Regions from separate parts of the Homo sapiens genome. Here region 2 is linked to region 1. The links are contacts of gene promoters, found by promoter capture Hi-C in human tissues and cell types (Jung and others, 2019). All regions are on one chromosome and are shown on one strand. Each heading gives the region's core, a stretch centred on a gene start or on the middle of the fragment in contact. The rest is flanking DNA. Distances are from core to core; before and after follow the strand shown. Region 1 holds the start of RPL35 (ribosomal protein L35). Region 2 overlaps PBX3 (PBX homeobox 3).

Region 1 (7,156 bases), core at 1,739-4,238:
GAAGCAGGAAAGTCTTTGTCCTCCCACATCCCTCACTCCTGCTGGCATCGGCTGGGCATTCGTCCTTTTCACATTGGCTAACCCCCTAGAGTTCTGCTGTCCAACAGAGCAGCCACTAGCCACACACGTAGCTGCTGACATTAAAGGTTTACTTTTGCCACACACGTGCTAGTGTCCCCTGAACAGCTAACATAGCCACACTATGGCCCTTCTCATTTTTTTGAGATGAGGCCTCACTATGTTGCCCAGGCTACACTTTAACTCCTGGGCTCAAGCCATCCTCCTGCCTCGGCCTCCCAGTAGCTGGGGTTATAGGCCTGTGGCACTTCATCAGCCATGGCTGCTTTTCCCTTGTGTCAAATCTTCAAGTTATTCAAACACAATTTGGGTAGTGATGTGGAACCATTTTGCAGATGAAATTAAAGACCCTCATCAGGTAACTTTAGGGGAGATTATCCTGGGTAATCCCAGAAGGCCCGATCCAATCAGCTGTAAGTCTTAAGCACAGGGCTGAGGCTCCCTCCAAGTACCCACTGGGAACAGCAGCTTCAACCTGAGCCCTGAGTCCCAGCCAGCCCCCACAATCACCTATGCCCATTCTTCAGAATACATTGGATGCATGTGCACACACCGTCTCCCCCTAGTTTTCTCTGCTTGAACCCCAATAAGATGAATGTTAAGGACAAGACCAGAAAATGGTTATCAAAATTCAAGACTAAGAGGGGGCCAGACACCTGTGCACACCTCCCAGAACACTAAAGCCGACCCTCCCCAAGGTAAGGTTTGGAACCAGGGCCCATCATGCCATTGACTGTGGGTGTCTAGGCCTCAGGGCCCTCATCTGAAAAATGAGCATGGCAGGTGCCTGGCAGGGACTGACACCCAGTGCCAGTAAGAGGCAGTGAAAACCTTCAACAGCCAGTCCTATCACTGCCCAAGCCACTCAACTGGGAAGGCTGGTTTCAAAAACTGAGTCTCCAGCCAGGACACCCCAAGCCCCAATGAATTCTTGACATCTGCAGCCTGAGGAAGTGGTCTGCAGAGCCACGTGCCAGTGCAAGACACTGGTAGAAGAGTGAGCCCAGCAACAAATTGGGAAGGCTAACCACTCTCAGCCCACGCACCAAGAAAAACCTCTTTACCATGTCCCCGGCCAGGGACGGCTAGCACTTGGCTTCCTGCAGCCAACCCTCCCTATGTCCAGGCAGACTCACCTTGTAGAATTTCCTGAGGTTTTCTTTCTGAGTCTGGTTAATAACTGTGAGAACACGGGCAATGGATTTCCGGACGACTCGGCTACAAAACAGAGATGTCAGTGAAGATAGGGAAGACACATAGCACTACCCAAGACTCAGGACTCACACATAGGGCAGCAATAGCTGCAGCCTCCCCCATCAACCCATCCATATTCACTCAGGAGGAAGGCGTTCTGGGAGTGAGGTCTGAGGAGGGAAGAGAGGGGCATGGGAGAGACAGCAGAGGCTTTATGAGGAAGTGCAGGCTGGATAAATGAGGCAGATCAGAAAAAGACCTTCAATCCCAGAACACGAATTTATCCTGAGGGCTAAGACCCAACCAATGCCAATTTCAATGAGCTGATGGGAAGGAATCATGCCACAAACCAGGCAATCAGGCTAGCTTAGGGAACTGCAGGAGAGAGAAACAAGACATTTGCAAAGTGGAGTCACTACAAGCCAGGAGACTGAAGCAAACAACGAGCCAGGGAGAAGTTATTTGTAGTCATGTCAGGATGAGGGAGTCACCTAGTAGACAGCTGGTCAACATGGTTTTTGAGGATTCAGTGTGCAACTGTGCTTGTCCAATCCTCCCACCCCTGCCTCTACTAAGGTTGTTTGGGGGCAAAGAGGGCAACCACCATTTTTTTTTTTTGGAGACAGGGTCTCACCTGTCAACCAGACTGAAGAGCAGTGGCCCCATCATAGCCTCCCAACTCCTGGGCTCAAGTGATCCTCCTGCCTCAGCCTCCAGAGTAGCTGGGACTACAGGCCTGTACCACCACACCCATCTAATTTTTTTTTGAGAAGTGGACTTTGTACCCAGGTTGATGAACTCCAAACCCATGTTCCTTTCACAAGTCTCCCGCACTCTTAGCCATGTAAAATAACTTACGCTGCCACTCCAGGGTGCAAGCCACCCACCTGCCAAGGGGGTTAAAAACTCAAGTGTTGGTGGGAAGCGGAAGGAAGGGGTCCGGGTAGGCTTTGAAGGCAGCATTAAGATGGGTCTCCGGGGATGCATTCCAGGCACAAGGACCGCAAGGTCAAGGCAGGTAAGAGGCTAAGCACACAACGGGTCTCCCATGCGCGCCAGGATGCACGGAGTGGGCATCTAAGCGGCCAGCTCCTTAAGCCAACTTTGAAATCCTCCGACGATCCCGATGCACACGTGCTCCCCACCCACGAGGGCTGTGATCCGGCCGCCTCACTTACATCTTAGAGAGCTTGGAGGCCGCACCGCCTGTCACTTTGGCGACGCGCAGCTGGGACAGCTCCACCTTCAGGTCGTCCAGCTGTTTCAGCAGCTCCTCCTTCTTCTTCCCGCGAAGATCTCGAGCCTTGATCTTGGCCTGCGCGCAAGAGAGAGTGTGCCTCAGCCAGGCCGCGGGGCCATATCCCCTTCACCTGCGTGGCCAGCCCCCAAAGGCGCGCGACTCGCCATCGACTACGAGTGCGCCGGAGCCCCAACCAGGGCTCAGGACAGTCTCCCTCGCCGGCCGTGCCTTGGGCAGAGTAACCCAGGCCCGGGCCGCGCGCCTCTCCCGGCGCCAAGCGAAGAGGCGGGTTGTGGTGGCGCCAGACCATTCTGCGCGGCGCCCCACAGGCCTAGGTGGCAGATAGAATCCGCGGGCTCAGCCCGCACCGCCTTCCCCAACCCCCGCGCCTCACAGCGCTCGGATGGCGCCCGATTCCGCAGCTCTCACCATTGCTGCACAAGCCGCCAACGCCGCCGCCCGCTCCGAGGGAAAGAGGAAGTAGGCGGGGCTGACCTCCGCAACTACTGCCGGGTGGCGGCGGGCGCGGCCAATGGCGCCGCAGCGGGGGAGCCCCGGCTCCGCCTCATCTCCCCCGCCCCCGAGGAACGCCGTGGTACTGCCCGCCCCGCCTGGTAGGGCCGGAGCCCCGCCTTGTAGTGCTCGCCTCATTCACGGCACCCCTGATAGCGAGGTCGGCGTCACGGTGTAGGCGCGCAGTTGGGGAAACCGAGGCCCAACGTGGGCGGCAGCTACCAGAGATGGCACACGGAGGACTCAAATTCGTCCATTCAGTCATTCGTTCATTCATTCCTTCGGGAAACCTTGCAGATCTCCCAATCTGGGCAACTCTGAGCTGGGCGCCAGTAGTCTGGGGGTGCTGACGGGAGGAGGGGCCAGAGTTTTCAAAGACGATTAACCGAGGCTCACGTCGCGGAGGAATTTAAAGCGCGAGATGGACGGGAGGGGCGGGCTCAGGCAGTTATAATCCAACTCCATAAAGGTTCTGGGGAGGCAGTATATGGAACTGCAAAGAGCATTTACACCTTTTTTTTTTTTTTTTTTTTTGAGACAGAGCTTCATTCTGTCGCCCAGGGTGCCAGGCTGGAGTGCAGTGTCGCGATCTCGGCTTACTGCAACCTCCGCCTCCCGGGTTCAGCGATTCTCCTGCCCCAGCCTCCCGAGTAGCTGAGTAGCTGGGATTACAGGCATGCACCACCACGCCTGGCTAATTTTTTGTATTTTTAGTAGAGACGGGGTTTCGCCATGTTGCCCAGGCTGATCTTGAACTCCTCAGCTCAGGTGATCCCCTCGCCTCGGCCTCCCAAAGTGCTGGGATTACAGGCGTGAGCCACCACGCCTGGCCCCAGCCTTTATTTATTTTTTTTATTTTTTAATTTTTTTTTTCAGACAGGGTCTCGCTCTGTCACCCTGGCTGGAAGGCATGGCGCGCTCTCCGCCCACCAAAACCTCCGCTTCCCGGGTTCAAGCAGCCCTCCCACCTCAGTCTCCCGAGTAGCTGAAACTACAGGCACAAGCCACCAGGCCTGGCTAATTTGTTTATTTTTTGTAGAGCTGTTGCCCAGGGTGGTCTCCTGGGCTCAAGCAATCCGCCCTCCTCGGCCTCCCAGAGTGCCTAGGATTACAGGGGTTAGCCACCTCGCCTGGCCATACAGCCTTTTTTATTTTTATTTTATTTTTTATATATTTTTTGAGATGGAGTCTGGCTCTGTCGCCTAGGCTGGAGTGCAGTGGCGCGATCTCGGCTCACTGCAACCTCCACCTCCCGGGTTCAAGAGATTCTCCTGCCTTGGCCTCCCCAGTAACTGGGACTACAGGTGTGTGCCACTACACCCAGCTAAATTTTTGTATTTTTAGTAGAGACAAGGTTTAGCCAGGCTGGTCTCAAACCCCTGACCTCAAGTGATCCACCCGCCTCAGCCTCCCAAAATACTGGGATTACAGGTGTGAGCCACTGCGCCCGGCTAGTACAGCCTTTTTTAAAGTGAACCTGACCAGGTTTCAAATTCTTGCTCTGCTGCCAAGGTAGTAGTTGAGACTCTTGGGAAATCTCTTCCCCTTTCTTGAGTCTCAGTTTGCTCACATGTGAAATGAGGCATTTATGAGAATTAGAGGAGATATCTGTAAAGCTGTTAACCCGAAATCTGACGCATAACAATGGCTCAAAATATCATTGGTGTTCATGTTCCCAGAGGAAGGAACACTTCAGTAGAGCCCGGAAAGTGAAACGGGAATTCACAAGGCAGGGCATGTTTAGGCTTTCTGATTAATGTCTGCCAACCAGTAGGCATTAATCAGCACTCCAGTGCCACTCCCTTGCCCTTAATAAAGACATGCCACCTCTTAGAGTTATGGTTGAAGCCAGATTGTCCTCTTGTTACTACCAGCTGTAACCACCCACAAGGAGACTTCTCCCATCTCCTATGAGTAGCAACCTCTGTGCAATCCTTTCCTTAGCCCCAAACAGGCTGAAATAAAATGATGCATTTATGTGTCTATTTCCACAGCCAACCTAGAAGTTCTCTGGGGACAGAACCTTGGCGGACAACTGAATTAATTGTTCTAGTCTCCAGGCCCAGTACATGGATGCTTGTTGGATGAATTAATGAACCTTGACCCACACCAAGGTGAGGAAGGCTTTCAGGAGGTGGAGGGATATGGGGAAAAAAGAGAGTAGAGAGAGGGCAATCCCGGCATGGCTTAGACTTTTTTTTTTTTTTTTTGAAATGGAGTCTTGCTGTGTCACCCAGGCTGGAGTGCAGTGGCACAATTTCAGCTCACTGTAACCTCCACCTCCCAGGTTCAAGCGATCCTTGTGCCTCAGCCTCCTGAATAGCTGGGATTACATAGGTGCGTGCCACCATGCCCGGCTAATCTTTGTATTTTTGTTTTTTTCCAAAATGGAGTCTTGCTCTATTGCCCAAGCTGGAGTGCAGGGGCACAATCTCGGCTCTCACTGCAACCTCTGCCTCCCAGGTTCAAGCGATTCTCCTGCCTCAGCCTCCCGAGGAACTGGGAATACAGGCATGCACCACCAAGCCAAGCTAATTTTTGTTTTTTTAGTAGAGACGGGGTTTCACCATATTTCACCTGGCCACCATGTTGGCCAGGCTGGTATTGAACTCTTAACCTTGTGATCCGCCTGCCTTGGCCTCCCAAAGTGCTGGGATTACAGGTGTGAGCTGCCGCGCCTGGCCCATCTTTGTATTTTTTGTAGGGACGGGGTTTCGCCAGGGTGGTCTCAAACTCCTGACCTCAAGAGATCCGCCTGCCTCAGCCTCCCAAAGTGCTGCGATTACAGGCATGAGCCACGGCGCAGTGCGCCTGGACCTTTTTTTTTTTTTGAGACTGAGTTTCATTCTTGTTGCCCAGGCTGGAGTGCAATGGCACAATCTCGGCTCACTGCAACCTCTGCCTTCTGGGTCCAAAGGATTCTTCTGCCTCAGCCTCCCAGCCTGCCTACAGCTACTGTAATCCAAGTAGCTGGGATTACAGGTGCCGCCATGATGCCTGGCTAATTTTTATATTTTTAGTAGAGACGGCATTTCACCACGTTGGCCAGGCTGGTCTCAAACTCCTGACCTCAGGTGATCCACCTGTCTCGGCCTCCCAAAGTGTTGGGATTACAGGTGTGAACCACTGTACCTGGCCGGCATAGCTTAGTCTTAAATGAAAGTCTAGGCCGGGCGTGGTGGCTCACGTGGTGCACGCCTGTAATCCCAGCTACTCTGGAGGCTGAAGCAAGAGAATCGCTTGAACCCAGAGGCAGAGGTTGCAGTGAGCCGAGATCGGGCCATTGCACTCCAGCCTGGGTGACAAGAGGGAAACTCTGTCTAAAAAAAAAAAAAAAAAAAAAGGAAAGTCTAATGGTGCACAGTGCCTTTGCTGTTATATTTTTAAATGCTTAGAGTTAATGACTCTGCACATCTTTTTCGAACCTGAAGTCATTTGTGACTCTCTCTTACACGCCACATCTAGTCAACCAGTAAATTCCAGGTACTCTACCTTCAAAATTTACCCAACTTAAGGCCGGGTGAGGTGGCTCACGTCTGTAATCCTAGCACTTTGGGAGGCCAAGGCAGGTGGATCACCTGAGGTCAGGAGTTCGAGACCAGCCTGGCCAACATGGTGAAACCGTGTCTCTACTAAAAATACAAAAAAAATTAGCCGGGCATGGTGGCGGGTGCCTATAATCACAGCTATTCGGGAGGCTGAGGCAGGAGAATTGCTTCAACCCAGGGGGCAGAGGTTGCAGTGAGCCAAGATTGCGCCACTTCACTCAAGCCTGGGCGAAAGAGCAAAACTCCATCTCAAAAAAACAAAAAACAAAAAAAACAAAATTGGGACTGGGCGTGGTGGCTCACACCTGTAATCCCAGCACTTTGGGAGGCCAAGGCGGGCAGATCATGAGGTCACGAGTTCGAGACCAGCCTGACCAACATGGTGAAAACCTGTCTCTACTAAAAATATAAAAATTAGCCAGGCGTGGTGGTGTGCACCTGTACTCCCAGCTACTTGGGAGGCTGAGGCAGGAGAATCACTTGAACCCTGGAGGCGGAGGTTGCAGTGAGCTGAGGTTGGGCCACTGCACTCTAGCCTAGGCGACACAGTGAGACTCCCTCTTAAAAAAACAAAAAAACAGGT
Region 2 (7,156 bases), core at 1,880-4,379, 1.0 Mb after region 1:
TTCTATATGGCCAGAGGGCTCAAGGAAACTTCAGTACTTTTTTCTACGAAGAGGTCTTATTTCTTGTTTCCTGGAGAATAAGTCAGGAGCAATTACATGTGAGTATGTTCTTATATTAGGCCTAAATCATGTGTCTTTGTGAAAAGAAATTCAGTAATCTGAGAGAAAATAATTGTGTTTCTTAGGGAATTTCTGTAGTATCTTTTTGACTATATTTGTTCTAAATTATAGATTGTGGCCTTATCTGCAGTGCTTCATTAGATAGATGAAAATATAAGTTTCTTTCCATAATAATTTCTGTTTAGTATGATTTATAAAATTATTATTACTATGTTTTAACAGTAATCTGGATGTTTCTGGTCTCTCTAAATGAGCATGGACTCCATTCCTATAGCCCCAATGGGAATTTCAGTAATAAGGAAGAACAGATCTGATTGTTTTTGCATAACATTTCCCTTTTCAAAAGACCCCAAAGCTCCTTATAAATGGAAGGATGGTGTCACCTGTCTGGAGCACTAAACTCATTTAAGTCAAACCTATTATAAAAAAGCTAAGGATTAGAAGAGACAAAGATTATGTAGTTTTACCTGTAGAAGAATATGAAATTGTCATTAGCCTATAGCCTGTTTTCATAAGTGGTTGATGTGAGAAGACCTCTGAGAATCATGTAATTAAGTTAGGCTGGGTAATGTGTCAGGACAAAGTGTGTTATATGTAGCTTACCTGCTTGCGTGCCTTCCCTGTTTTTCCCCCAATTTTTTTCCCCCCACAAAAGAAAATAGCTTTTTTTTTTTTTGGATTATAAAAGAGTCTTTGCTAGCTGTTAAAATATTTAAAAAACATTGAAAAGTGTTTGAAAAAAGCAACGGTCACATAAATCCCATTGCTCAGAGATTACCACTCTTCTAAATAGTGCTAAACACATATATATTAATTTTCAAAAGTGAGTTAACTATGCTGTTGTGTAGCTGGCATCTTTCACTGAATAGTATATTGTGGATATCTTTCCATGTTAGCAAGTCATTCTATGTCATCATCTTTACTTGGCTGCATAATATTCCATGTTGCCTTTTTTGTCAGTTTTGTCACATACTGTGTATTTGCTTGAATCACAATTAAATATCTGTATAGTTATTTTATACTTTTATGGGGGGTTAGTTTAAAATATGGCATTATTCTAACTAGAAGTGAAATCATTAATTATTTACTGGTGCTTATTGTGTGTTAATCTCATTCTTTGCACTTAACTATCTGCTGCCCTTGTGGGGTTTACATTCTAGTGGAAAGAGAGGTAACATTATAGAACAGGTTAAAAAAGATGAACAAAGACATCTCTCTGCCTAGATTGTAAGAGGGAAACAAAGAAACAATCATCATGGCTATTTTATTAGAGGAATGAGAAAGGACCAGAGGCCTCTGTATGTGTCCGGGGAGGTTTACAGATTCATGGTTTTTCAGCTTCTATATCTCGTTTCTAGCTAACAGGGCTATCCTTTGTTCTAAAATGGCAGATGTTATTTGTAACTTTGTTTTAAAATAGCATAATATTTCTGCTTAAAAAATTTCAAAAATGTCAACAATGATTTTTCTTGAAAGTGTTAATATTCCTTCTTGACAGTATCCAAAGCTATACTTTGGTGATTTCCATGGTACCTCAATACTGAATTTGATTACTCTTTGATTAGGCAACTAAATTTTTTGTCTTACTTGCTTTTTTCACCCCTAAGTCATCCATAAAGACGTGATTTTCATGGTTGTGTTAGGTAAACATAAGTTGTACTACATATGTGTAATTACAAAGCAATTGTAATGGCAAATCTAGGGTCTTGTGACATCTGTTAGTAGGGATCTTCTTATCATATCCCTCAGTGATCATTTGACAAAAATAATACCATGAAGGGATTTCAAAGGAAGCTTGAGAAGTGTAGTTTAACAAGCACACAAATGATGCATTTCACCCTACATTGATGTCGTTAGGACCATTCACCATAGATGTGTCCCCGGTCCTCCCTGAAGTATTAAAAAAAAAAAATCAATTATTTGAATAAAAGAATAGAAGCCATGGGTAATACATTTTTAGATGTTTGAATTTTTAAATGTTGCTGGAGGAATAACTATTCAAGTGTAAAACCATGACTCTAAAAAACAAAATTGTTGGGTGTGGTGGCCCACACCTGTAATCCCAGCACTTTGGGAGGCCAAGGCGGGTGGATCATGAGGTCAGGAGTTCGAGACCAGCCTGGCCAACATAGTGAAACCCCATCTGTACTAAAAATACAAAAATTAGCTGGGCATGGAGGTGCGCACCTGTAATGCCAGCTACTCAGGAGGCTGAGGCAGGAGAATCACTTGAATGCGGGAGGTGGAGGTTGCAGTGAGCCGAGATGGCACCACTGCACTCCAATCTGGGCAACAAGAGCAAGACTCCATCTCAAAAAAAAAAAAAAAAACCACAAAAACAAACAAAACAAAATTTAGTAGATTATAATATTGCACCCAAATCAATTATGACAATGATGATTGTCTTTCTGTCTCTCTCTCTCTCTATATATATATACACACACATATATACACACATATACACACACATATATATACACATATATATATACACATACATATATATATACACACACACACATACATATATTTGTTTTGTTTTGCTTTTGTTTTGTTTTTTTGTTTTGAGACAAGGTCTTGTTTTGTTTCCCAGGCTGGAGTGCAGTGACACAGTCATGATTCACTGCAACCCTGACCTCCTGGTCTCAAGCTAGCCTCCCACCTCAGCCTTCCCAGTAGCTGGGACCACAGGTGTATGCCTCCACGCCTGGTAATTTTCATATTTTTTGTAGAGACAGGGTCTCACAATGTTGTCCAGGCTGGTCTCAAACTCCTTAACTCAAGTGATCTGGTCAACTCGGCCTTCCAAAGTGCTGGGATTACAGGTCTGAGCCACTACACCCAGACTGCAGTTTTTTTTTTTTACATGCTTCCTGTGTTCTAGGCACTGTGCCAAGCACTTTGTATGAATTTATTCATGTAGTTTTCATAAGAACCCTATGAGTAGGTACTGTTATACCCATTTTATAAAGAAAACGAAAACCAGAGATGTTACATTGATTTTATTTACATTTGAAAATAGATTGTAGTTCAGTTTCTAGCCATATGGGTAGATTGAATGTGCAGAAAAACCTCACCTGGCATAGAACACTTAAACATGCTGGCTGTACAGTAAAGAACTTCATTTCCAAAGCATGGCTGAGCCAGCGTAGTGAAGTAAGACATAATGTGGGCCAGAAGAAAGGACAGAGAGTGATTCCACAGATATGAGAGCTGGCATTTATTCCAGGGGCGTGGAGTAGGGGGTGTCTGTCAGTGCTGACCTAGAATGTAGGTTTTGAAGGCATATGTGCAGCTTAAGAAACAAAATCAGAGCTCTTCACATAAAGCCAGAACCTCTAAAAGGAGAGTACTCTCACAGAGTGAACTTGCCCATGGCCCCAGGTGAGACAGACCTTAGCGATACCCTACATTCAGTTGATTTGGTAATGGAAATCGTATTTTCCTTATGGCCCAAGAAGGTTCATGATGAAAATTCAGTTTGAAGTGAATTGTTAGTACTCCTAGGCATCTGTAAAATGCCTGTCTTTTCTGGAGGAAAGCACTTAAAACACAGGTGTCTAAAAATTCACACAGATGAATTTTTGAGGGCCACAGGCTCACAATTAAACAATGAAGAAGCAGAAAAAAAGAAAATGCCTGAGTTAAAAAAGCCACCATGACTATGAGATAGCAGCAACATCAAACTGCAGGATCAGGCTGAGAAAGTCTGAAGATATTTGTATCATCAGGTACAGCAAATAAGGTAAGCATATTTTTTAAAAATTCAAGATTGAAAGTATGTTGAACCAAACAGGACACCATTAAAAGTAATAAGACAGATGTAAAAAGCAAAGAAAATTCTTAGAAATGGCTTAAGATGAGAATTAGCGGACAATGGATATGAAGAAATTACCTAGCATACAGTACAACAAAGAGATAGAAATATGAAAAAGATGTTAAGAGGATAGAGTAAGAAAGCCCAACAAACATTTAATTTATGGTTCCAGAAATAAAGAATTAAAAAATTGGAGAAGAAGCAATATTCAAGTAGATATTTAGCTGAGAATATGTCAGAATTGATGAAATATACTGGTATTCAAATAGGTAGCTCGGTGAATTCTAACTGGGATGAATGGGAAGATAACATCACCAAGGAGTATTATAATGAAACTGCAGAACCCAAAAGATTAAAGAAAAAACATTCTCTAAATCAGAGAAAAGAGCAACAATGAATAAACAGACAGCTAACTTCTCAGCAGGAGCAATATGAGCTAGAATCAATGAAATAATTTCAAAGTGCTAAGAGAAATTAGCTAGAATTATCAACCTAGAATTGTCTTTCCATGGAAAATACCTGGAGCATGGGCAAAATAAAGGTATCTTCAGACTCATAATTGAAAGCTTTCACTACCAATAGAATTCCACTAAAATAATTTCTAAAGGATATATTTTAAGAAAAAAACAAAAACCCTCAGAAGGAATGTCTGAGTAGCAACAATAATGAGAAAGGAAAATAGGAAATTTGTGGATGAGTATTGACCATGTAAAAATTTTTGGTAAAATTTGTGGATAAGGGTAAACCATGTGTATTAGTCCCTTTTCACGCTGCTGATAAAGACATACCTGAGACTGAGTAATTTATAAAGAAAAAGAGGTTCAGTGGACTCACAGTTCCACGTGTCTGGAGAGGCTTCACAATCATGGCGAAAGGCACATCTTTTTTTTTTTTTTTTTCTGAGACGGTCTCAGTCTGTTGCCCAGGCTGCACTATCTCAGCTCACTGAGACAGTAGCACTATCTCAGCTCACTGAGACAGTAGCACGATCTCAGCTCCCTGCAACCTCTGTCTCATGGGTTCAAGGGATTCTCCTGCCTCAGCCTTCCAAGTAGCTGGGATTGCAGGTGTGCGCCATCATGCCTGGCTAATTTTTGTGTTTTTAGTAGAGATGGGGTTTCACCATGTTGGCCAGGCTGGTCTCAAACTCCTGACCTCAAGTGATCCACCCGCCTTGGCCTCCCAAAGTGCTGGGATTACAGGTGTGAGCCACCACGCCCAGCTGAAAGACTCATCTTACATGGTGGCAGACGAGAGAATTTGTGGAAGGAAACACCCCCTTATAAAACCATCATATCAGGCTGGGTGATCTGACAGAGCTAGACACTGTCAAACAAACAAACAAACAAACAAAAAAACCCCATCACATCTCATGAGACTTATTTACTATCATGAGAGCAGCTCAGGAAACACCCACTCCCGTGATTCAGTTACATCCCACTGGGTCTGTCCCACAAATTGTGGGAGCTACAATTCAAGATGAGGTTTGGGTGGGGACACAGCCAAACCCTATCACCATGTAAAATAATATCTAATTTGTAGAGATTAAAGAACAAGATAACTTAAATCTTGGATGTAAGTTAAGAGAGTGGTGGTCAGAGTTAAATCATTTTAAGGTTCATTTATTGTCTGGACAAGAATAAAATTTTGATTATCAGGAAATACAAGTAAAACCACAGGGAGACATTGTTTATATACCAAATTGTCAAAAATTACAAAGTCTTATAATACCAAGTTTTGCTGAGGGTGTGGAGCAACAGAAACTTTTGTTCACTGGTGGGTATATAAATTGAATAATTTCAGCTTGGAACATTACCTAGCAAAATTGAAGGCATGTATACGTACATACCCTACCAATCTAGCAATTCCACTTCTAGATATAAAGTCTTGAAAAACTCACATGTATACCAGAGACGTGTAAAAAGTTGTTTAAATCATTATTGTAAACAATGGCTAAAAACTAGAAAAAATAGGCCGGATGCAGTGGCTCACGCCTGTAATCCCAGCACTTTGGGAGGCCGAGGTGGGCAGATCATGAGGTCAGGAGTTTGAGACCAGCCTGGCCAACATAGTGAAACCCCATCTCTACTAAAAATACAAAAATTAGCCAGGTGTGGTGGTGGGTGCTTGTAGTCCCAGCTATAGGCTGAGGCAGAAGAATCACTTGAACCCGGGAGGTGGAGCTGAAATTGCGCCACTGCACTCCAGTCTGGGTGACAGTGCAAGACTCCGTCTCAAAAAAAAAAAAAAAATCTAAAAAAACCCAGGTGTTCATGAATAATAAAATGGACAACAATAATGAATAGGTCAACAATGGAATATGACACAGCAATGAGTAGGAATGAACTCTTCCACATTCAAGAACATAATAGCACATGTAGAATGTTGAATGAAAGAGCAAGGTATAACAGAAAACATTATATAATTCCATTTATATAAAATTCAAACAAAGTAAGAATGAAGCTATAGTGTTAGGGCTGCATAGATGGTAATGTTATTAAAAGGACTGAAATATCTTACTGATAAATCTTTGTATTGATTATAGGTTACAATGATAATATTTCCAATATATTGGGTTAATTAAATATATTACAATTAGTTTTACTTTAAAAAAGCTTTAAAATGTGACTGCTAGAGAATTTAAAATTACATATGGGGTTCTCATTACATTTCTATGGGACAGAGCTCTAGAGGCAAAAATAGAATTGATATTGAGATAGGGCACAAAGGTGCTTCTAGGAAGGTGACAAAGTTGTATTTCTAGACCTAGGTAGTGGTTACATGGATGATGCTCTGTGGTCTTTTTCTATGTATGTGTGTAAAAATGCATCTTTCTGTGTATATATCTTATAATTTAAAAACTTGCTTTGAAATACTGATATTGAAGAAGTTTATGGGGTAACCATTAAAAAAATTAGATTGAATAGATTGTATAGCTTCCAGACTAGTAAAGTAAGAAAAATGAAATGGTAGGGGCAGAAAAAATTAGAGTAACTGATTCAATCCAAAAGAAGGCAAGAAAGGAGAAGAATAGAAGAAACAAAAGCAGGGCAAATAGAAAGTATAAAATGATTTGGGAGAAATAAATCTACATATATCTTACCACAGCACATGTTAAAGGATTTTAAAAGATTGCAAGAGAAAAAGTAAAGATTGTCAGAGGGTACTAAACAAACAAATAGGTACCAAACAAATAACAACATAAACCTGACAACACAC

Evidence for each region. The method cuts DNA at HindIII sites, captures the fragments that hold promoters and counts their contacts. A contact is called where the count stands out against the background at its distance.
Region 2: a fragment that was not itself captured here is called in contact with the fragment with the promoter of RPL35 in region 1 in 1 of the 25 tissues and cell types used here (lymphoblastoid cells).

What each region holds. Positions count from the first base shown.
Region 1 is chr9:124,858,969-124,866,124 of GRCh38, forward strand. RPL35 (ribosomal protein L35) reads right to left here and starts at 2,989. Exons shown (of 4, transcript NM_007209.4): 1 at 2,942-2,989; 2 at 2,451-2,587; 3 at 1,215-1,296. The coding sequence starts at 2,944. It overlaps ARPC5L (actin related protein 2/3 complex subunit 5 like), which reads left to right and starts at 3,162. Exons shown (of 6, transcript NM_030978.3): 1 at 3,162-3,430; 2 at 5,020-5,139. RefSeq lists enhancers at 500-1,001, 2,490-3,113, 2,549-2,598, 2,639-2,748, 3,189-3,408 and 1 more and a silencer at 2,899-3,168. The HindIII fragment of the contact is 10,105 bases long and covers 2,700-7,156 here.
Region 2 is chr9:125,865,208-125,872,363 of GRCh38, forward strand. The region is part of intron 2 of PBX3 (PBX homeobox 3); the gene reads left to right. Among named protein-coding and RNA genes, the nearest start is that of PBX3, 120 kb to the left of the region's middle. The HindIII fragment of the contact is 4,796 bases long and covers 732-5,527 here.